Regions from separate parts of the Homo sapiens genome. Here regions 1 and 2 are each linked to region 3. Evidence: promoter capture Hi-C in 16 types of primary human blood cells and fetal thymus (Javierre and others, 2016). All regions are on one chromosome and are shown on one strand. Each heading gives the region's core, a stretch centred on a gene start or on the middle of the fragment in contact. The rest is flanking DNA. Distances are from core to core; before and after follow the strand shown. Region 1 has its middle 19 kb from the start of TTYH1. Region 2 overlaps LAIR1 (leukocyte associated immunoglobulin like receptor 1). Region 3 holds the start of RPS9 (ribosomal protein S9).

Evidence for each region. Contacts are between HindIII fragments. The CHiCAGO score rates a contact against its expected background, and 5 or more counts as called.
Region 1: a contact is called between a fragment that was not itself captured here and the fragment with the promoter of RPS9 in region 3, in 4 of 17 cell types (total B cells, naive B cells, fetal thymus and 1 more). The highest score is 6.2, in total B cells.
Region 2: a fragment that was not itself captured here is called in contact with the fragment with the promoter of RPS9 in region 3 in 1 of 17 cell types (monocytes); the score reaches 5.1 in monocytes.

Annotation. Positions count from the first base shown.
Region 1 is chr19:54,395,071-54,398,794 of GRCh38, forward strand. No RefSeq gene overlaps it. Among named protein-coding and RNA genes, the nearest start is that of TTYH1, 19 kb to the right of the region's middle. The HindIII fragment of the contact is 1,914 bases long and covers 785-2,698 here.
Region 2 is chr19:54,351,591-54,354,989 of GRCh38, forward strand. It overlaps LAIR1 (leukocyte associated immunoglobulin like receptor 1), which reads right to left. Exons shown (of 10, transcript NM_002287.6): 10 at 1-3,399. Among named protein-coding and RNA genes, the nearest start is that of LAIR1, 12 kb to the right of the region's middle. The HindIII fragment of the contact is 3,651 bases long and covers 1-3,283 here.
Region 3 is chr19:54,199,141-54,202,735 of GRCh38, forward strand. It overlaps RPS9 (ribosomal protein S9), which reads left to right and starts at 1,718. Exons shown (of 5, transcript NM_001013.4): 1 at 1,718-1,748; 2 at 2,020-2,141; 3 at 2,347-2,469. The coding sequence starts at 2,045. RefSeq lists an enhancer at 1,106-1,775 and a silencer at 1,538-2,031. The HindIII fragment of the contact is 3,345 bases long and covers 380-3,595 here.

The sequences.
Region 1 (3,724 bases), core at 492-2,991, 200 kb after region 3:
TGTTGAGGCAAAGTTTCACTCTTGTCGCCCAGGCTGGAGTGCAGTGGCACGATCTCAGCTCCCTGCAACTTCCGCCTCCCGGTTTCAAGTGATTTTCCTGCCTCAGCCTCCCAAGTAGCTGGGATTACAGGCGCCTGCCACCACGCCTGGTTAATTTTTGTATTTTTAGTAGAGATGGGTTTCCCCATGTTGGCCAGGCTGGTCTTGAACTCCTGACCCTGTGATCTGTGGGCCTTGGCCTCCCAAAGTGCTGGGATTACAGATGTGAGCCACCGTGACTGGCTAATTTTTGTGTTTTTAGTAGAGATGGGGTTTCGCCATGTTGGCTAGGCTGGTCTCGAACTCCTGACCTTGTGATCCGCCCGCTTCGGCCTCCCAAAGTGCTGGGATTACAGGCATGAGCCACTAGAGTCTCTTTGTGAAAAGGAATGGAAGGATGTGGTGTGATGCAGCACGCATCACCAGGTCCCTGTCATAAATTTGCTTTTGTGGCCGGGCGCGGTGGCTCACGCCTGTAATCCCAGCACTTTGGGAGGCTGAGGCAGGCGGATCCCCTGAGGTCAGGAGATCGAGACCAGCCTAGCCAACATGGCGAAACCCCATCTCTACTAAAAATACAAAAAATTAGCCGGGCGTGGTGGCAGGCACCTGTAGTCCCAGCCACTCGGGAGGCTGAGGCAGGAGAATAGTTTGAACCCGGGAGGCGGAACTTGCAGTGAGCCGAGATTGCTGCACTCCAGCCTGAGCGACAGAGCGAGACTCTGTCTCAAAACAAAACAAAAAAAGCTTACCCTCCATGATGCAGCAATCCCACTACTGGGTATATGCTCAAAGAAACTGAAACCAGTGTGTGGAAGAGATGTCTGCACCCCTATGTGTATTGCAGAGTTATTCACAATAGCCAACATATGGAATCACCTAAGTCTCCATCAGTGGACAATGGGTAAAGGAAATGTATATATACACAGTGGAAATACTATCCAGCCTTAGAAAGGAAGGAAACCCTGTCATTTACAGTATGGATGTAATTGTCAACCTTCAGGACATCATGCCACATGAAATAAGCCAGATACAGAAAGACAAATATCGCACAACCTCACTTATACATGGAATATTAAAAAGTTGAACTCAGGCCTTCGAGACTAGCCATGGCCAACATGGCAAAACCTACTCGGGAGGCTGGGCACGGTGGCTCACGCCTGTCAGCACTTTGGGAGACCAAGGCGGGCAGATCACCTGAGGTTGGGAGTTCGAGACCAGCCTGACCAATATGGAGAAACCCCGTCTCTACTAAAAATTCAAAATTAGCCAGGCGTGGTGGTGCATGCCTGTAATCCCAGCTACTCGGGAGGCTGAGGCAGGAGAATGGCTTGAACCTGGGAGGCGGAGGTTGCAGTGAGCCGAGATTGCGCCACTGCACTCCAGCCTGGGCGACAGAGTGAGACTCTGTCTCAAAAAAAAAAAAAAAAAAAAAGTTGAACTCACAGAAGCAGAGAGCGGAATGGTGGTGACCAGGGGCTTGGGAAGGGGAGTAGGGATTGGGAAGATCGTGGTCAGAGGGTACACAATTTTAGATAGAAAAAAATAAATTCAAGAGATCTGTTGTGCAACATGGTGACAAATTAGTGAAAATGTATTATGTACTTAAACATTGTTAGCAGAATAGATCGTAAGGGCTCTCGCCACACACGCAAAAATGACAACTATGTGGCCACGAACGGTGGCTCACACCTATAATCCAAGCACTTTGGGAGGCTGAGGCAAGTGGATCACTTGAGGTCAGCAGTTTGAGACCAGCCTGGGCAACATGGCCAAACCCCATCTCTACAAAAAATACAAAAATTAGCCAGACGTGGTGGCACACACCTGTAATCCCAGCTACTCGGGAGGCTGAGGCACAAGAATCACTTGACGTGGGAGGTGGAGTTTGCCGTGAGCTGAGATCGCACCACTGCACTCTAGGCTGAGTGACAGAATGAGACTCTGTCTCAGAAAAAAAAGTGAGGTGATGGATATGTTAAACATCTTGATTATGGTAATTATTTCACAATGTGTACATATGTCAAAACATCATGTTGTACACCTTAAATATATACACTTCTCTTTTTGAGACGGAGTCTCGCTCTGTCGCCCAGGCTGGAGTGCAGTGGCGCAATCTCGGCTCACTGCAATCTCCGCCTCCCGGCTTCACACCATTCTCCTGCCTCAGCCTCCCGAGTAGCTGGGACTACAGGCGCCCGGCTAATTTTTGTATTTTTTTTTTTAGTAGAGACGGGGTTTCACCGTGTTAGCCAGGATGGTCTCGATCTCCTGACCTTGTGATCCACCCGCCTCGGCCTCCCAAAATGCTGGGATTACAGGCATGAGCCACCGCGCCTGACCAAATATATACGCTTTTATTTGTCAATCATATCTCAATTAAGCCAGGAAAAAATTGGTAAGGCTACTTTTGGAAACACTTTGACACTATTTCAAAAAATTGAAACTAACAATCCCTATAGCGCAATCATTCCATTCTTATATGTATACTCTTTAAAAATTCTTGCACATATGCACCAAGAAACATGTAAAAAATGTCTGTTACGTAATAGGGAAAGTAAAATAAATAGAAATAGAAAAGTAACTAAAATAAAAGAAGCCCATGTGTTCATCAACAGGTACAAAAATACAAAAACTGTGATATAGACCTATATTGGAAAGCTTCAAACTATGGCATTGAAAATGATTTCACGAATCATTTCAAAAAAAAATTCATGGTTTCTGTTGTCATTTTTACCAAGTTCATTCCAATATGTGGTTTAGAGACACTATTTTAAACAAATAAGGGGCCAGGTGCAGTGGCTCACGCCTATAATCCCAGCACTTTGGGAGGCTGAGGCGGGCAGATCACCTGAGGTCAGGAGTTTGAGACCAGCCTGGACAACATGGTGAAACCCCGTCTCTACTGAAAATACAAGAATTAGCCAGGCATGGTGGTGCGCGCCTGTAATCCCAGCTCTTCGGGAGGCTGAGGCAGGAGAATTACTTGAACCTGGGAGGCAGAGTTTGCAGTGAGCCGAGATCATTCCACCGCACTCCAGCCTGGGCAACAGTGTGAGACTCTGTCTCAGAACTTAAAGTAGAATAAAATAAAATAATAAAATAAAACAAATAAGGGAACGACAAGCACAGTTACTTCTGCAGAGGAGGAAAGTGGAGGATGAGAATGGAAGGAGATTCCAGGTAGATGAGGTGGTCGGGATGAGATTGTAGCTCTTAATTGGATGGTGGGCTAAGTGAGGCCGTTTCGTTAATGTTTCATGATTCAAGCTGTTTTATAAATTCTCTTTTATTTATGAAAAATACATAATACATGTTTGGTAAAGTGATCAAACTTTCTTGATCAAGATATCAAAAGAAAGACCCAAGATTTTATTTTCTATTTCTTTCTTTTTCTTTTTTTGAGACGGAGTCTCACCCTGTCACCCAGGCTGGAGTGCAGTGGCTCGATCTCAGCTCACTGTAAGCTCCACCTCCCGGGTTCACGCCATTCTCCTGCCTCAGCCTCCTGAGTAGCTGGGACTACAGGCACCCGCCACCACGCCTGGCTAATTTTTTGTATTTTTAGTAGAGATGGGGTTTCATTGTGGTGTCAATCTCCTAACCTCCTGATCCACCCGCCTCGGCCTCCCAAAGTGCTGAGATTACAGGCGTGAGCCACTGCACCCGGCCTCTCTTTATTTCT
Region 2 (3,399 bases), core at 208-2,707, 150 kb after region 3:
ACACAACATGCTATCACCACAACTATTTTTAAATGTCTTAAGTAGTAGTTTCCATTGGACAGCAGGTGTGTAAGCAGGAGCCAAGAGTGAAACACGCTCTTGCTCCTCTTCCTAGCAAGAGAGCAAAGACTGTGAGGTTTGGTGTATTCATCCAGAGAGAGTGTTTTAAATGGGGCTATGACAGAGAAGGTAGACGAGGTGTTGGGCAGCCCTGGACACCCTCAGAAAATATCCCTTCTTCATGAATTTATTTTCTATGTTCAGTTTTACACTAAAAGGTAAAAAAAAGTTAAAAAAAAGAAAAAAAAAGTCCACCCTATAGTTTGTATAACAAACATTCTCACTTGTTCATGCTGTATTCAACGTCGAGCCCATTTTCTTTCCCCTACTACAAAATCCCACCGCTGGGGTCCTGGTACCTACAGTGATGGTTCTGAATAAAGCCCTCCTTACTCTGCTTTGATAAAGGTCACCGGGTAATCTTTCTCTCAACGCCTTGCCCAGCTGGCCCAGGGCTCCAAGAAAGGGAAGGCCAGACCCCTGGCCTCTGCCCTGGTTACTCACAGGGACATCTGTGAATATCTGCTGCTGCCCCATCTGGCCCCGGTGAGGCTGCTCCTCCCTTTCACGTTGGGCCCCACTGCAGCCTCCTGGTGTTCACCGCCAGGGCACACCCCAGGGGAACTGGGGTGGGATCATAAGCACAGGGTAGGCCCTCCCTCTCTGCCTGGCCACACTGCACTGCCAGGTGAATTAAACATGGCTCTTCCCCCAGGTGGTGCTTGGGGGCCCGTGCAGCAGGAGGGACATCTTCTCCGCACAGCAATGTTCCCAGATCTCACCACCCTGAGTTCTGGCCCCTGCGTTGGGCGGGTTGGCAAGTCAAGAGAAAAAACAAGCCCCTGCATCTAATTTTCTGTCTTCTCTCTGGGCCCTTCCTCTTTCCACTAATATGTCAAGAAATAACAGTGTGGTATTTTTGCTTAATTTCCCCTAAACTCTATCTGTCCTGCTTTCCACTGTGACCTCACCACCTGAACTTCCTGGACTTCCTTACACTGGAGCAGACACTGGCATCTGCTCAGCTCTCCTGTGCTCTGCAAGGGGTAGAAAAATTCACCCATCCTCTGCTATGTGCAGACTGTCCACCTTCTGCTATAGAGTTCATGTACCCACCTGTCAACCTCATAGTCAAACAAACAAGACGTTATGGGAGAAAACACCCAGCTGATGGTTGAAAAACAACCAGAGAAGAAAGACAGAGATGTAGAAAAAGAGACAAAGACGGCTGGACGCAGTGGCTCATGCCTGTAATCCCAGGACTTTGGGAGGCTGAGGTGGGCAGATCACCTGAGGTCGGGAGTTCAAGACCAGCCTGAGCAACATGGAGAGCCCCCCGTCTCTAACAAAAATACAAAAAATTAGCCGTGTGTGGTGGTGCATGCCTGTAATCCCAGCTGCTCAGGAGGCTGAGGCAGGAGAATCGCTTGAACCCGGGAGGCAGAGGTTGCAGTGAGCCAAGATTGTGCCATTGCACTCCAGCCTGGGCAACAAGAGCGAAACTCCATCTCAAAAAAAAAAAAAAAGAGAGAGAGAGACAGAGAGACACACAGTGAGAGAGAAAGACAGAAAGAGAGACAGGGACAGAGACAGACAGAGCAGGGAGAATGTGTCCCACGTGAAGAACAGGGAAAATCGGTCACAATGTTCACACAAGAAAGCAAAGATACAGAGTACAGCACTGGGAAGCAGATCCCAGGAGGAAATTAAACCTGAGCACAAATAGAAAATTAAAGCTCAGTACAAATTAAAATTGGGTAGGCCAGTCAGGTACCACCCTCTTTGAACCAGCACAGAAACCTCCCAGCAGACCGAGCTGCAGCCCATCCCGGGGTTCATAATGTGGAGTCAGGAGCCTCAGGTGGGTCTGAAGCCCCTGTCTCTGAGACTTGGCCGACCTTGGACAGGTTACTTCATGTCTCGGTCCATAGTTTCTGTTTTTATAAATGAGGAAAATAATAGAGCACGCTGTGGAGGGTTTGTAGGAGAATTTAATGTGTCCACGTTTGCCTAGAACTAAATTAGCAACTGCCCCATAGAAAGAGCTGGCTGAGTTTTTGCTGAATTCTTAAAAATCTTTCTTTTCTTTTCTTTTCTTTTTTGACGGAGTCTCGCTCTGTCGCCCAGGCTGGAGTGCAGTGGCACCACCTCGGCTCACTGCAAACTCCGCCTCCCGGGTTCACGCCATTCTCCTCCCTCAGCCTCCCGAGTAGCTGGGACTACAGGCACCCACCACCACACCCGGCTAATTTTTTTGTATTTTTAGTAGAGATGGGGTTTCACCGTGTTAGCCAGGATGGTCTCGATCTCCTGACCTCGTGATCCGCCCACCTCAGCCTCCCAAAGTGCTGGGATTACAGGCGTGAGCCTCCATGCCCGGCCTGTTTTTGTTTTTTAAAGACAAACACAGATTAACCCAAATGAGATTCTGCCGCCTCCTAGTGGTACATAGGGTAATTTTCTGTGTCAATCAGTACATCTGACCCTACAGGTAGGGTGGATACTCAGAAATGCCTCAACCAACAGCAGGCTCAGTGATTCCTTGGATTTCCTGGGGCGTGTGAGTGTATGTGCATGTCTGTGTGTGTGCGTGTGTGTATGCATGTGTGTGAGAGCATGCATTCCTGTGCATGTATGTGCAGATGTGGACCTGTAGGGTCGGCTCTCTGCCTTCACCCAGCCACACCTCCCTCATTCATTCCTGATACACGTGATTTGTCAGAAAACACTGACACCAATGTGAAGTCCTAAGATGAGCAAGTTCAGAATATCTAATGTATCGTATCTGTGGCGATGGGTGCGCTGAGGAATTGATTGTGACTGTCATTGCACAATGTACGTGTACGACAAATTATCACATTTTACACCTTGAATACGTACAATCCTGATCAATTAAATTTTAAAAAGAAAACGCTGACACGTTTTCGTAAGTCCTGTTTCCCTCACTCAGCTTTGAACAACTGTGAAGGCAGAGAGTGGGTCCGAGAGACCTATGCACCCAGGACCAGGCCTGGGGCTGCCAGATGTGAGGCCTTCAAAATTATTTATTGATGCGTGGAGTAAAGCACAACCCAGAGAACTGGGCTTGGCTCTCAGCTGTGTGTGTATAGCACAGTCTCAAGGCTAGCTCTTGACTTCTAGGAAGGTCTTTAGGGTCAGCAGGGCAGATAATTACAGCAAAGTCTCTGGGGTCACTGGAGGTTCACAGCAGACACCTAGGACAAGCTTGGAGGTGGCATCACTGCTCAGGAAATCGGCTGATTGGCTGTAGCTGGGCCTTTAGAACAGGCAGGTGACTTTAGCTGGGTCTCTGGAAACAGTCAGGTGAATAAAGCTGGG
Region 3 (3,595 bases), core at 468-2,967:
GAAGGGAGTGAAAACTTATGGAAGTTTTTTCCTTCCACGTTTCCCCCTTCCAGATGAATAATATACGCGTGTTCAAGATACAAAAATGCATAAAATTTGGCCAGGCATGGTGGCTTACACCTGTAATCCCAGCACTTGGGGAGGCTGAGGCGAGTGGATCACTTGAGCCCAGGAGTTCAAGACCAGCCTGGGCAATATGGCAAAACCCCGTCTCAAAACAACAAAACAAACAAACAAAAAACCCATAAAACTGAACAAGGTAGTTTGTAAGATATGGAAGTACAATGCAGATGACAATAATGACGATGGTAGCTACCACTAGGCGCTTTATTTATGCCACTCTCCTCAACACTGGATAGACTCTCACTTAATCCTCACAAGCTTATGAGGTAGGCGCTACCATCATTCGCCGTTTTACAGAGGAGGACGCTGAGGCACAGAGTGATTGAGAAACTTGTCGAAGGCACTGCAGCTGGCAAGTGGTGACGTGGCATTTGAATCCAGGCATCCGGATGGTGTGGATGCCGTGGAAGAGAAAGGGGCGGGTGGGACTGCTTCCTGAGGAGATAGTGACTGCCGAGGCAGCAGCGTAGGGAAGACAACTGAAGAACACGAGCTGTGGAGACAGACCATCGCATTCGGAGTGGAGAGATGGGTGTACAGACAGACAATAACCAGACTATATATAAAAAGAGAACTCTAGGTCAGGCGCGGTGGCTCACACCTGTAATCTTAGCACTTTGGGAGGCTGAGGCGGGTGGATCACTTGAGGTCAGGCGTTGGAGACCAGGAGTTCAAAACCCCGTCTCTACTAAAAATTTAAAAATTAGCCGGGCATGGTGGTGGGCGCCTGTAGTCCCAGCTTCTCGGGAGGCTGAGGCACGAGAATCGATTGAACCCGGGAAGCGGAGGTTGCAGTGAGCCGAGATCGCACCACTGCACTCCAGCCTGGGTGACGAGAGCGAAAAACTCCGTCTCAAAAATAAAATAAATTACTGATAATAGTACTAATACCCCTTAAGTGGCTATTGATAATAATAGTACCATGGGTGGGGGGGCAACTTCTCTGAGAGTGCTCTGTAAGTATGTATTGAAGATTGAGTAAATACATTTAAAATTCTTAGAACAGTATGTGGCACATAGCGTTCCAGAATGCCACATTATTGTTAGTGACAGAAATAATCTCGGCTGGGCGCGGTGGCTCACGCCTGTAATCCCAGCACTTTGGGGGGGCCACGGCGGGAGGCTCTCTCGAGGCCGGGAGTTCAAGACCAGCCTGGGCAACATGGCAAGACGCCGACTGTTAAAAAAAAAAAATGCTACCCGGGCGTCGTGGCGTGTGCCTGTAATCCCAGCTACTGGGGAGGAGGTGGGAGGATCGCTCGAGCCCGAGAGGTTGGTCGGGGCCTCAGTGAGCCGAAATCACGCCACTGCACTCCAGCCTGGGCGACGGAGCGAGACCCTGTCTCAGAAAGAAAAAGAAAAACCACCGTCCAGGGGCGGAGAAGGAAGGTTCTCCCTACTTCTCAGGTTTCCACTCCCTGGCCGGAAAAAACCTAGTCCTCCCAGGTTAGCACGCCGCTCTAGCCCAGCCTCACGTCTCCACTGCTTCTCAGCCAGCCAACGCCTCTTCTGATTGGCTCTGACGTGCGTGGTGCGTGAAAACGTCACGAGACGCCGGCGTTACTATAAGAGCGCAGCCGTGGCGCTTCCGCGCCTCTTTCTCAGTGACCGGGTGGTTTGCTTAGGTGAGGTGCGGTGGTGTGCTTTTTCTCTAGGGTTTGGGTTGGATGGTGGCCCGGGCCTTCCGAGTTTCCATGAGTAAGCTAAAGACGTTAGGAAACAGAGCAGGGTGGTTGAACGGGAGTGCAGCACGGTTGTGGGGGCAGATACTGACTATGAGAGCGTTGGAGGTTATTCTCGCGAGATCGGATCTGGGCTCCGCGAGGTTTTGGCGTAGTTGTGGGACTGCGCAGGCGCCGTTTGGATCCCTTACGCTCACACTTCTCTCCCGCGCAGGCGCAGACGGGGAAGCGGAGCCAACATGCCAGTGGCCCGGAGCTGGGTTTGTCGCAAAACTTATGTGACCCCGCGGAGACCCTTCGAGAAATCTCGTCTCGACCAAGAGCTGAAGCTGATCGGTGAGTGGCCAAGGCTTCCGGGAAGTGGTTCGGCTTCCGGGAGGCGGTTAGCACGTGGATGAAGGTGCCCATGTACTCTATCTAGTCCGTCCCCTAAATTTGGTACTATTCGTGGTTTAGGAAGGTTTTGTGATTCCAAAGCTGCCAGTCTAGTTGTTGTGCCAGTACGTGGGACTACACTTGTCCACCCCCTTCTCCCCACCAGGCGAGTATGGGCTCCGGAACAAACGTGAGGTCTGGAGGGTCAAATTTACCCTGGCCAAGATCCGCAAGGCCGCCCGGGAACTGCTGACGCTTGATGAGAAGGACCCACGGCGTCTGTTCGAAGGTGCGTATGGGAGTCCACAGCAGAGGGATGGGGTGCAGGGCTTGTGAGGTTCATTCTCCCTTCTGTTGCCTCTGTTCCAGTGATGAGAGTTGTGTCATTGGATAAATGGAACCAGCCTTCTAACTTTTAGTGGCACTTGTGGAGTAGGAAAAGTGTATCTGGATCAGTCTTTGCCCTGTTTCTTAGGTGTGTGGCTTTTTTGCCCAGTTATTGGACCTTCAGTTTAGTAATGACCAGAGCTAAAGATAGGCCTGGCACACCTGGGCACCCGTCTATATCTTTATATTCTGTTTATGTGGCCTGTTTGCTAGTGGATGAGAGTAGACTATGAAGTGGAATTTCTGGGCTAAGTGATGGTGATAACAGGGTTTGCACATTTGCTTGGTTTATTGTTTTTTTAATTAAGTTTTCTCGTTTTATTTAGTCTTTTGAGACGGAGTCTTGCTCTGTTGCCCAGGCTGGAGTGCCGTGGCGCCATTTCGGCTTACTGCAACCCCCGCCTCCTGGGTTCAAACAATTCTCCTATCTTAGCCTCCCAAGTAGCTGGGACTACAGACAGGCGCACGCCACCACACCTGGCTAATTTTACTTTTGAGACGGAGTCTCGCTCCATTGCCCATGCTGGAGTGTAGTTGTCGCAATCTTGGCTCACTGCAAACTCCGCCTCCAGAGTTCAAGCGATTCTCCTGTCTTAGCCTCCTAAGTAGCTGGAATCACAGGCATGGGCCACCAAGCCTGGCTAATTTTCTATTATTAGTGGAGATGGGTTTTCACCATGTTGTCCAGGCTGGTGCTTGTTTTTTTAAGCTGGTCAAGGACATTTAGGTGGTATTTAGCAAAGGCCTGAACAGGAGAGAACCTGTAAAATGTCTCAGGGAACAGCATTTCAGGTGATGACTTTAGGAGGGCATGCAGATCACATAGACTTAGGCTTACTTTACTAATTGTGGTGAAATACACATTAAATTGAAAATGTACCATCTTAACCATCTTGTTTTAAAATCTACTCTGAGATGCGGTGTTATTGGAGTGCTTTCTACAGCAGATTGGCATGACCAAGATTGGCATTTGTATATCCTGAGACGCTGCTTTTGCCTGAGTTTGGGTAGTCATGATTTATGGTGAA